2 separate regions of the Homo sapiens genome follow, and region 2 is linked to region 1. The links are contacts of gene promoters, found by promoter capture Hi-C in blood cells and fetal thymus (Javierre and others, 2016). All regions are on one chromosome and are shown on one strand. The core of a region is centred on a gene start or on the middle of the fragment in contact, and the rest is flanking DNA. Distances in the headings are between cores, read along the strand shown. Region 1 holds the start of LAMA3 (laminin subunit alpha 3). Region 2 overlaps LAMA3 (laminin subunit alpha 3).

Region 1 (6,149 bases), core at 2,280-4,779:
AAAAAAAAAAAAAAAAAAAAATAATAATAATAATAATAAAGAAAATTATCCAGGCATGGTGGCACATGCCTGTAGTCCCAGCTACTTGGGAGGCTGAGGTGAGAGGATCACTTGAGCACCACAGGTTGACACTGCTGTGAGCCATGATTATGCCACTGCACTCCAGCCTGGGAAACAGAGTGATACCTTGTCTCAAAAAAAAAAAATTATTTGTCTGCTTTCACACACACGCATACACACACACACACACATTCATATACAGTTCTTTTTTTTTTTTTTGAGACGGAGTTTCGCTCTTGTCACCCAGGCTGAAGTGCAGTGGTGCGATCTCAGCTCACTGCAACCTCTGCCTCCCGGGTTCAAGCGATTCTCCTGCCTCAGCCTCCCCAGTAGCTGAGATTACAGTCATGTGCCACCATGCTCGACTAATTTTTGTAGTTTTAGCAGAGACAGGGTTTCACCATGTTCGCCAGGCTGGTCTCGAACTCCTGACCTCTGGTGATTCACCCGCCTCACCTCCCAAAGTGTTGGGATTACAGGCGTAAGCCCCCACACCTGGCCACATTTCTTATGTTTAGTAGATATTTCAGTTCTGCAAAAATCCATAATAACAGCTTTAAGATATAATTTATATACCATAAATTCATAAAGTGCACCATTCAGTGGTTTTAGTATATTCACACAATTGGTGATGTGATAGTGGTGATGCATAGCGTGATGGTTATCATCACCACTATCTAATTCCAGAACATTTTTATCACTCCAAAAAGAAACCCCATAGCCAATAGCAGTCACTCCCCATACAATATGTGGTCTTTTTTGTCTGACTTCTTTCACCTACCATAACGTTTTCAAGGTTCTTCCATGTTGTAAGCATGGATCAGAACTTCATTTCTTTTTATGTGTGACAGATATTCCATTGTATGGATATACTACATTTTGTCTATCCATTCATCAGTTGGGGAACATTAGGTTGTATTCATTTTTTTATTATATGACTAACGCTGCTATAAACATTTATGTACAAGTTTTTGTGTGGATATATATTTTCAGTTCTCTTGAGTATGTTCTTAGGATTGGAATTGCCAGATCACATGGTCATGTTATGTTTAAGTTTTTGAGGAATTGCCAAAGTGTCTGCACCATTTTACATTCCCATCAGTAATCTGTGAGGGTTCCAACTTCTCCACATCCTCACAAATACTTGTTATTATCTATCTTTTTGATTATAACTATCCCAGTGTGTGTGAAGTAGTATCTCATTGTGGTTTTGGTTTGCATTTTCCTGATGGCTAATGATGTTGAGCGTCTTCCATGGTCATGCTTATCGACCATTTTTATATTTGCCCACTACTTTTTAAAAAATGGTTGAGTTGTAAGAGTTTATTCTGGATATGAATTTCTAATTAGATATATGGTTTGCAAATATTTTCTTCTATCTTGCGGATTGTCTTCTACTTTCTTTTTTTTTTTTTTTTTGAGATGGATTCTCAGTTTCCCAGGCTAGAGTGCAGTGGCACAATCTCAGCTCACTGCAACTTCTGCCTCCTGGGTTCAAGTGATTCTCCTGCCTCGGCCTCCCTAGTAGCTGGGATTTCAGGTGTGCACCACCATGCCCAGCTAATTTTTGTATTTTTAGTAGAAAATTTCATCATGTTGGCCAGGCTGGTCTTGAACTCCTAACCTCAGGCGATCAACCCATCTTGGCCTCCCAAAGTGCTGGGATTACAGGCATGAGCCACTGTGCCTGGCCATCTTTCGCTTTCTTGAGGGTGCCTTGGAAGCACAAAAGTTTTAAAATTTGGTAAGTTTCAATTTATCTTTGTGTGTGTGTGTGTGTGTGTTTTGAGACAGATTTTTGCTCTGTTGCCCAGGTTGGAGTGTAGTGCCATGATCTTGGCTCACTGCAACCTCCGCTTCCCGGGTTCAAGTGATTCTCCTGCCTTGGCCTCTGGAGTAGCTGGGATTACAGGCACATGCCACCATGCCTGGCTAAGTTTTGTATTTTTAGTAGATACAGGGTTTCACCATTTTCCCCAGGCTAGTCTTGAACTCCTGACCTCAGGTGATCCACCCACCTCGGCCTCCCAAAGTACTAGGATTACAGGCATGAGCCACCGTGCCCGGCCCAATTTATATTTTTCTTTTGTTGCTTGCGCTTTTGATATCATAGCTAAGACAGCATTGCTAATCCAAAGTCATGAAGATTTTCTCCTGTGTTTTTCCCTTAGAATTTTATAGTTTTAGCTTTATAGTTTAGCTCTCTAAATGTAAAATTTAGAGATCTTAAATCCATTTTGAGTTAATTTTTGCATATAGTATGAGGTGGGGATCCTACTAGATTATTTTGGGATGTCCAGTTTTCCCAGCAGCGTTTATTAAAAATATTATTCTTTTCCCATTGAATAGTCTTGGCACCCTGTTGAAAATCCAGTGACCATAAATGTAACGGTTTATTTCTGAGCTCTCAATTCTATTCCATTGATCTATGTTTATCGTTATGTCGGTACTACACTGTCTTGATTACTGTAGTTTTGTATTAAGTTTTAAAACTAGGAAGCGTGAGTCCACTGACTTCATTCTTTCTCAGAATCGTTTTGGATTTTCTAGGTCTCTTGCATTTCCACATGAATTTTAGGATCAGCTTGTCAATTTCTGAAAAAAAAAAAAGTCGGGATTTTGATCCCTATCAAAATCCATTGTGTTGAATTGTAGGTTGCTTTAGGAAATATTGCCATCTTCACAATATTGTCTCCTAATCCATGAACATGGGAGGCTTTTCCACTCATTTAGGTCTTTTAACATTTCTTTCAAAGAGGTTTTGCAATTTTTATTGTACAAATATTGCATTCCTCTAATTTCTTCGAGGGCCTATGTGGGTTCTGTTTTAGTAGGGTGTTCTGCATATAAGACCAAGCATCAGTCCGGGGTCGTGGGGGGAGGGGGTCTTCTCTGTTCTGAGGCCATCATGGCAGGTGGCGTACCTCACTCAATCTCTGTTAGCTTATTTGTAAAATTGAGCAGATTAGGCATCTAAAGGATTTCCTCTAAGGTTCCTTTCCAGGTTGGCAAATTACAACTTGCATTATTGGCTGTCTTTTAAATATGTACGTTCCACCACTCCCAGTTCCCTGGCTCAGCCTGTGGCTGCAGTGCCACAGGGATCCTAGGTGCACAGTGTTGAGGAGTTGACGACTCAACACTTGGCTGGGAAATCGAAATGTCTTTGATGTGAGTTCTGTAGGTAGTGGCAGTTTCCTCTGCTCTCAACCAAATTCGTTTACAAGCCTCCTTTACTCTTAGGTCACAGGTGGCTTTTCTGGCTTTGACCTGAGCGGTGAGTATCCAGAGAGGAGAACGATCTAATTAATTTCTGTCCTGGCGCCTGGAGGGTTCGAAGATCCCAGGCTCCCGTTCCCGCCGCCTGGGTGGGAGCCCGGGAACGCCTCTCCCATTCCCCGCCCGCGAAGTTTGCAGCGCGCCTCGCGCGGGAGAGACGCCGTCTGCTGGCGCGCGGCTGAGCGCTGTCAGTTCCTGATCCGGCTGGTGCCCGCTCCAGCCGCGGCAGGTTCCAGAGCTGAGAGGCCACCCCCACGCCGCGGGCTTCCAGCGCGTGGAGCAAGGGGAGCGGCCCCGGCGCCGCCCATATCCCCGGCTGCGCTAGTCCTGGCGCTGCAGGTCCGGGAGGCGCAGGCGGAGAGCGGCGGTGCCCCCGAGCCCCTCTGCGGACGGCTCAGGCGGGAGGACCCCGCGCGGCTGGATGGCGGCGGCCGCGCGGCCTCGGGGTCGGGCACTGGGGCCAGTACTGCCGCCGACGCCGCTGCTCCTGCTGGTACTGCGGGTGCTGCCAGCCTGCGGGGCGACCGCTCGGGATCCCGGGGCCGCGGCCGGGCTCAGCCTTCACCCGACTTACTTCAACCTGGCCGAGGCGGCGAGGATTTGGGCCACCGCCACCTGCGGGGAGAGGGGACCCGGCGAGGGGAGGCCCCAGCCCGAGCTCTACTGCAAGTTGGTCGGGGGCCCCACCGCCCCAGGCAGCGGCCACACCATCCAGGTGAGGGCCTCGGAGAGAGCCGGGGTGGGCGCGCCTTTTCCTTCCCGCGCCGGCCAGACACCCGGAGAAGGGATCGGGCCCTTTCCTCACGCGCGCTAGTGGCTCCGGGCGACTGGGAAGGGCAGCCCCCATCCCCGCGCGCGAGGGCCCACGACCCAGGAGCGATCTCGTGGAAGCACCGCACCGGCACCACCGGCCCGAGGCGAGGAGGGGGAGCACGCGAGGTGACATGAGGCTGTGGTCAGGTTCGGGCTGGTGGAGGGGAAAGTGTGAGGCTGCGCTCTAAGAGATGCAGGCGCCTCGGCCCTTCCCGCCTCCGTCACCCACGGAGCGTCCCGCCAGGCTTGAGTCCTCGAGGGTTCAGGGGCGCCTCCTGCCCCACCTCCCGGGCCTTATTCGGAGAAGTCGGTGGCAATTACCTTCTGTGGTGTATTTTAAGAGAGAATTTTTAGGTTATAACAGCGGTATCACTCTAATGTTACTGAAAAGATTCACTTCACTGCACTGCCTGAAGTGCCACCATCCAGTCATTGGGGGCGAATGAGACCTTAGGCGGACAGAGATAGAAAGGCTCTCAGAGATCCGAGCCTCACCGCGAACACCCGGGGCAAACGACATTGCGGTGCATGTTAAGCAGCATCTTGCAGTGCCTGGCCCTTACTCACAGGTCTCAGCCAGGCAAGAGTGCAGTGGTGCGATCACGGCTCACGGCAGCCTCGAACTCCTGGGCTCAAGGGATCCTCCCGCCTCAGCCTTGGGCGTAGCTGGGACTACAGGCGTGCCCCCCCGTGCCTGGCAATTTTTTTTTTTTTTTTTTGAGACAGAGTCTCGCACTGTCGCCGGGGCTGAAATGCAATGGTGCGATCTCGGCTCACTGCAACCTCAGGCCTGGCAATTATTTATTTATTTATTTATTTATTTATTTATTTATTTATTTATTTATTTTTCTGTAGAGACAGAGTCTGGCTATTTTGCCCAAGCTGGTCTCAAACTCTTAGCCTCAAGCTGTCCTTCTGTCTTGACCTCCCAAAGGGGCAGGAGAATTTGAATCCAGTCCTGACTTCAAATCCTGGACACTAAGCCCAAATTGCCTCCTTCTTCTGCAAAGTATTGTTGAGGAACAGGAAGTGGGAAGAGGGAGCGATTTTGGAGCTTGGGTTCTAAAAGAGCAAGGTTATCATTGGGTGTCTAGATTAGTGTTTTAGAAACTCTTTTGACCATGCACTTCCATAAATGACAAGTTGTTGAACATCTAGTGCCATATGTGCTTATTTACTTATAAACTACATGCATGTATTATATTGATATGTGTTGTGCATATTTTAAAACATGCAAAAACAGAAATCTAAAAGACAAAATAACAATGATGAAAATATTTTTACCATATTTATATATTATCTATATTATAAAACATGCAAGAAAAGAAACTAAAAATATAAAATAACAATGATGAAAATACTTTTAACAGTCCTCAAATAATTTTGCTTTCTCTATTTTATGATTGTGTGTTTATAAACACACAAATATGCAAATATAATTGTGTGTATAATTATTTTTGAGAAATTTAGTTTAGCTCTTATAACAATTCAGTTTTTAATTTAATTTTATTTTTGAGACAGGGTCTCACTCTATTACCCAGGCTGGAGTGCAGTGGTGCTATCTTGGCTCACTGCAACCTCCACCTCCCAGGCCCAGGTAATCCTCCCACTTCAGCCTGCCAAGTAGCTGGGACTATAGGCACATGCCACCATGCGTGGCTAATTTTTGTATCTTTTGTAGAGACAAGGTTTTGCCATGTTGGCCAGACTGGTCTTGAACCCCTGGGCTCAAGCGATCTGCCCACCTTGGCCTCCCAAAGTGCTGGGATTACAGGCATGAGCCACTGCACCCGGCCTGATTTTATGTTATACTTGATTTTAGTGGTTGTTATAGCTGAAAAGATACCTAAAAAAATATGTAGATTCAAATGGAAGAACTGCATTGACCAGTCACATAATTTACAGAGTTCAGTGCAAAGTGGAAATGTAGAACCCCTTGTTAAAAAATTATTTTAAATATCAAGATGGTGACAGCACAGCATTGAAGTAAGCGAGGG
Region 2 (6,478 bases), core at 325-2,824, 230 kb after region 1:
AGAGTGCTCCCAGAAGGTTAGGTTATGATGACTTTTATATGAGATCTGAAGCTAGTTAACTCTTTTGCTAACTTATACATCAGTTGGAAGGAACTAGAATATGATTTATAAGGTGTCATGCCAAGGTATTCTTTCTTCTAGAGTCCTTATACATGTGGGCGTCTGTCCATTCTACGTAGTCAGGTACTAATCTTTGTTTTAAAGTTGTCAGGGTTGCCTCCAAAGGCAAAAATGCAAATGGGAAAGCTGGGCACTTCAACAGAACCTGGGGGTGACATCTTTACTCCCTGGGCTCTGGAAGGAGCCTTGCAGATCATGGTATGTAGCCCCTGAGTTTTACAAATGAAGAAATTCAGAGCCAGTGAGATTATATTAATATTTAATATTATCAATATCAAATAGCAATTCAGCCATGAATAGCCAGTTATGAATTGTCAGTAAGATTGATTTTATTTCCATGAAATGGAATAAAATAAAATCGTTTAAGGTAGTTTTTTCGAGTACTTTTGAGTATGTTTGAGAGTTGCCACTTATTCATTCATTACACAGGATTTATTGAGTGCCTAATGGGCATCAGGCAGAGTGACAGGTGCCAAGAAGGCAACAATGAGCAGGGTGGAGCCTGGAGAAGAACAGAAGAGAGACAGTCACTACAGGAGAACATGACGTGTGCCATAGGAGGAAGCTCAGGGTGCTGACAGAGCCCAGGAGGGAACCTAATCCAACTGGGGCCATCAGGAAAGTGACCTCCAGCTGGGACCTGAGAGATGCTAGCAGTCAGTGTATGTGAAGCACCAAAGCTGGATAGAGAAAGCATGAACTTGCAAAGAGCTAGAGTACAGCAGGAAGTGGGATAGGGATGCCCCATGGGGCTGATGTGGGCAGCAGGGGCCTGACCACAGAGTACCTTGAAAGTCACAGTAAGGAGCCATTGGAGGGACTTCAGCAGAGAAAGGCCATGACCAAATTTGGGTTTTCAGTAGCTCACTCTAGTGCAGGGCAGAGACTGGATTAGAGAAGAAAAGGGCAGAGGCAGGTAGAGTGGCTGGAGGCCGAGTATATTAACAGAGGTGAGTGATGAGGGTGACCTGGCCCAAGGAGTGGTTATGCAGGTGAGCAACAGGGATCAGATTCCAAATATATTTAGGATGGTGAATGGGCAGCACTGCACAATGGCTTGGGTTGGGGAATAAAGGGGAAAAGCAGTCAAGAATGATGCCTGGTTTTTGGCTAAGCCCTTGGCAGATGGAACACACCAACGGAGGAGTGGGGTGAGAAGTTAAGTCTGAGACAGGCTTAGTCCAGGAGCCTGAGACACAGCCAGGTGGAGAGGCCCACAAGCAGGCGCACAAAATGGCCTGGGCCTCCAGAAAGGAGGCCAGTCTGGAGAAGGGTAAATGAAGCTCAGGGCCAGGTAGTCATTGAGGTGGTAGAGGCCAGTGGGCTTACCCAGAGCCAGGAGGAATTCTCAAGTTGAGGCAATAAGGAACCCATTGGTGGTGGTTTGTGTTTGCATGATATTAACACAAGGCCCCTAGACAGTGATGTGGATGCCAGTCAGTCCAGGTTTTCTAGAAAAGAGCAGTAGGTAGAACCACAAAAGAGGTGGCTTTAGTTTTGGCTCAGCAAAACTTTAGGTTAATTCAGCACTCAACCTTTATTTGCCTTTTCATCTCCATCCATTAAAGAAATATATAGATATAGAGATGCATATACATAGAGAATTTGCTTTTTTAAAACAATTTTTTGTAGAGATGGGGTCTTGCTGTGTTGCCCAGGCTGGTCTCGAACTTCTAGCCTCAAGTGATCCTCCCACCCCCAGAATTCTGGGGTTACAGGCGTGAGCCACTGTGCCCAGTCCAGAATTTTCTTTCTTTTTTTGAGACAAGAGTCTTGCTCTGTCACCCAGGCTGGAGTTCAGTGGCGCCATCTTGGCTCATTGCAACCTCTGCCTCCTGGGCTCAAGTGATTCTCCTACCTTGGCCTCCTGAGTAGCTGGGATTACAGGCATGTGTCACCATGCCTGGCTAATTTTTTGTATTTTTAGCAGAGACGGGGTTCCCCATGTTGTCCAGGCTGGTCTTGAACTCCTGAGCTCAGGTAGTCCACCCACCTTGGCCTCCCAAAATGCTGTGATTACAGGCATGAGCCACCATGCCTGGCCTAGAATTTTCTTAGTAACTTATTTTGGGATCCTCCAAACAAGGGACTGCTTCCTTTTTCTGGGCAAGTTTTATACTTTGACCTTTTTTTTTCTTTTTTTTTTTTTTTTTTGAGACGAGGTGTTGCTCTTGTTGCCCAGGCTGGAATGCAATGGCATAATCTCGGCTTACTGCAACCTCCACCTCCCGGGTTCAAGCAATTCTCCTGCCTCAGCCTCCCGAGTAGCTGGGATTACAGTGCCTGCCACCATGCCCGGCTAATTTTGTGTTTTTAGTAGAGACGGGGTTTTGCCATGTTGGTCTGGCTGGTCTCGAACTCCTGACCTCAGGTGATCCACCTGCCTCTGCCTCCCAAAGTGTTAGGATTACAGGCATAAGCCACCATGCACAGCCTATATTTTGACTTTTTATTAAAATCACTGGAACATGGAAAATGCAGGAGATAGAGGCCAGTCAAAAGATTTCACTGGCCCTTCACTCCCTCTAAAGCAAAATTCTAAGGAATAGTCAGCTGTTCTGGGTGTTGCCTCATCCCTGTGGTGAAGTCTTTGGTGGCCCAGAGATTCCTGAAACTGCCATTGGGCATGAGTCACTGGGAGGTGGGGTGGGCACAGAGGAGTTCCATGGATAATCCACAGCCAAGCTCTGTAGGGGCAACCAGCCAACGCTTCCAGAGCAGGGAGGTGTTCTGGTCCCTGGCATAAATGGAGGGACCTTTTAGACAAAGTTCTCAAACCTAACCTGGAGCAAGGCAAGCAAGTGTAATCACTAAATCAGCTTTGCTCAAGGGATTTTGTGCACGTTTTGTTTCTTCCCCCTCTCACTGTAGTGTTTCTTCTGGGAATGGGGACCCAGATCTTGGAATGGCTTGTTTCCGATTATAATCAGAAATCATTCTGTTAATCCCATCTCCTACCCAGGAGAAGAGCAAATCATCCCTGGTAATGCCAGAGGGTGTGACACCAACAAGGGCATTTTTCTTGAGGACCTACACCATTGTTTACAGAGTGTGATTATACACACTAAAATGAAAATGATCCAAAAAGTAGATCTATTGAACATCGACTAAGTACCCAACACCAAGATTAGGGCTGCCTTTTGTTCTTTTTGCTCTCTGAAGTCGGCCTGCAACAGCCATGGAGCTGGCTAAGCTTTTGTGGACAGATTGGCCCAAAGTATACATAAATACCCCAACGCAGGAACCCACCAACACAACAACTCATGCCCCAGTGCAATCACATTCCTCTAGCAAGTATGTTCAGACCCTGTATCCTGGAGTAAATGTAGAACTGTAGGTCCTCAGGTAAGCCAAGGTAACAAGAATCCCCCCAGGAATAGTGGAAGTAAATCTCTTCCATTTTAACACTTCTGCTGTAGGTAACTCTTCTAGAAAAAGGCATGATCACTTCCAAGTGCTGCAGGAATACCAACTGTAAGTGTAAAAAGCAAGGGCTTCAAGCCTCACTAACCTGTGTGACACACTGACAGTACAGACCCCAGCTCTACCACTTACCAGCTGTGTGACCTTAGGCAAGGCCTTAACCTCTTAATGCCTCATTGCTACATCTATAGTATGGGCATAGTAGCTGCCTATCTCTTAGGGTGGTTGGAAGATTCAGAGTGTGTAAAGGAATTAGCAGAGGTCAGCACATGGTCAGTGCTCAATAAATGTTAGATAAGAAAACCTGCCCTTCCTGCACATGTATCCTAGAACTTAAAATAAAATAAAATAATATAAAAGAGAAAATACCTCCCTCAAAAGCTTATTGTAAGTTGGATTCATAGAGCTTCGTGCAAAATAGGTGGTCTGTATCTGTTAACTGCCTTTCTCTCCTACTATTTTCCTTTTCTGCAACCTTCTTTCTTTGACCAATAATCTATGGAGAGAGGGACATCTGGAATGTCGTTGTCCAAGAGATATGTTGAAACCCAAAGAAGAATTGACCTAAAACCATGTATAAATAGGCAAGCTCCAGGAATGGAAATGAACCCTCCTCCTCTTCTGAGGCAAAAGGCCATCTTTATAAAATAATTAGGCTTATACTGTAATGCCAGTGAGGATTTGTTTCTTTCTTTTCCTTTTAATGAAATTTAATTTTAGGTCTATTACAGGTAGCTCAACTGTTTCTAATGAATTGGATTAAAATGAATGCAGACACCTTTCCATTTAGAAAAGTAAGCTGCATTAGGGATTTAGAATGAAATCAGCTTTGGGTTTTCTTAGTACATCATTTGTTTAAGAAACACAAATATTTGCCTGGACTTCAGTTAGTTCATGTGTGTGAATGCTTTATGTGCATTCAGCTCCAGACAGATCCAGAAGTCAAATCGAAGGGGAAATGCCCTGGGGCCATGTAGAAAGAGCTGCTTTAGAAATTGCTCTCATTATATAAGAGCAGTAATATGGGAGTAGTTACTAACTTGACGATCTCACATTGAGTCCTTACTCTGTACAAAACACTGTTTGAGTGTGTTACACATATTAACTTTCTTAGACTATGACAGCCCTATGAAACAGATTCACATATTCCCATTGTCTAAATGAGGAAACAGGCACGGAGAAAAGTTGCCTGTTCAATCAGAAGGGACAGAACTTGAACCCAGGCAATTTGGCTGGTCCAGAGCAGCACAATTTTGCCTCTCAGAAACACCTGCTGAGCATTCACGTCCAGGTGCCATGCACTGCTGCAAGCTCTTGCTGTACGTTAACTTGTTTTTTTGGTTTTGTTTTTGTTTTTTGAGGCAGAGTCTCGCTTTGTTGCCAGGCTGGAGTACAGTGGCACGATCTCAGCTCACTGCAACCTCCGCCTCCCGGGTTCAGATGATTCTCCAACCTCAGCTCCCGGGTAGCTGGGACTACAGGTGCCTGCCACCACGTCCAGCTAATTTTTGTATTTTTAGTAGAGTTAAGTTTTCACAATGTTGACCAGCCTGATCTCGAACACCTGACCTCAAGTGATCCACCTGACTTGGCCTCCCAAAGTGCTGGGATTACAGGCATGAGCCACCCCACCCGGCCCGTTAATTTTTTAAATCCTGGCAATAACCCTTTGCCCACAGGTAGGAGGTGGTAGATACAGCAGCATATGAACCCAGACAATGTGTTCCATTGTTTCAGCTTGGCATTGGTTAAATCAAGCTACGTTTTTCATAATTGAATAGAACCAAAAAGTAACACTTTGTTTCTTCTGACTTTACAGTGGCTAACTTAACAGTGAACAGAAAAAAAAGAGCAAAAGGTTTTCTAGAGCACTCCTGGTTCCTACAAATGATTTATTACTTTATTAATATATATGTATATCATATATCATCTATTAACTTATTAATACATGTCCTATCCACCTGCAATGCCGTGACTCCAGCGGGGAGGGACGGGCAGTTCTAGATATTGTGCATGTTCTCTGTCTCTTTACCTTTTGCGGCCACTGGCCATTCTTCTGTTAACATTGTTGTCTGCATTTTTAAAGCTGGGAATGTAAACTTACACAGAAAGGAAGTCAGTTCTCCCAGCATCATAAAATAAGTAGCATTATGGGAATCCCATGGGAAAGGATAAACATAAAACACCTACTCATTTATGGGTGAAAAGTACTAAAGAGCACAGCGTTTCAGCTCTGATTTCACGTGAGCCTGACATGATCCATCTCTTCCTTTTATCTGTGTTCGTAATCAGATTTAACATTTCTACGCCTGCTTTCCGAGGCTGCATGAAAAATTTGAAGAAAACCAGTGGTGTCGTTAGATTGAATGATACTGTGGGAGTAACCAAAAAGTGCTCGGAAGACTGGAAGGTAAGTGAAAGTTCAGAACCTCGTGAAGGAGTGCTTCCCAGCCAACCCACCTTCCGTATCCATTAACGCAGCAACTTTTGACTTCTTTCTGATAGCACACAGTGTTACAGTGAACTGGCTCATATACACTCCCCATGTGCTTGCAAGATGCTGAACCTTTTCAGGTTTGCACATTAACTTTGTAGGAAAGTAGGAAGACCAACTATATACACAAAAACTTACAGATGATTGCTGACTTATTATGCAGAAAAGTAAGCTCTCTTTCTTTCTGAGGTTACATAAATCACATTAATCAGTTTGAGTAAAGTGAGATAGGGTAAGGTACTGTATTTCAGCCAAGAAATGATTACAATGCCAGTAATTTATTCCATGTTTGCATTTCAGCTTGTGCGATCTGCCTCATTCTCCAGAGGAGGACAATTGAGTTTCACTGATTTGGGCTTACCACCTACTGACCACCTCCAGGCCTCATTTGGATTTCAGACCTTTCAACCCAGTGGCATATTATTAGATCATCAGACATGG

What was found. The method cuts DNA at HindIII sites, captures the fragments that hold promoters and counts their contacts. A CHiCAGO score of 5 or more calls a contact.
Region 2: a fragment that was not itself captured here is called in contact with the fragment with the promoter of LAMA3 in region 1 in 1 of 17 cell types (M1 macrophages); the score reaches 5.3 in M1 macrophages.

The regions. Positions count from the first base shown.
Region 1 is chr18:23,685,924-23,692,072 of GRCh38, forward strand. It overlaps LAMA3 (laminin subunit alpha 3), which reads left to right and starts at 3,530. Exons shown (of 75, transcript NM_198129.4): 1 at 3,530-4,054. The coding sequence starts at 3,761. RefSeq lists an enhancer at 2,889-3,438. The HindIII fragment of the contact is 9,125 bases long and covers 1-6,149 here.
Region 2 is chr18:23,922,288-23,928,765 of GRCh38, forward strand. It overlaps LAMA3 (laminin subunit alpha 3), which reads left to right. Exons shown (of 75, transcript NM_198129.4): 63 at 5,836-5,953; 64 at 6,338-6,478. Among named protein-coding and RNA genes, the nearest start is that of LINC02958, 57 kb to the right of the region's middle. The HindIII fragment of the contact is 3,473 bases long and covers 1-3,311 here.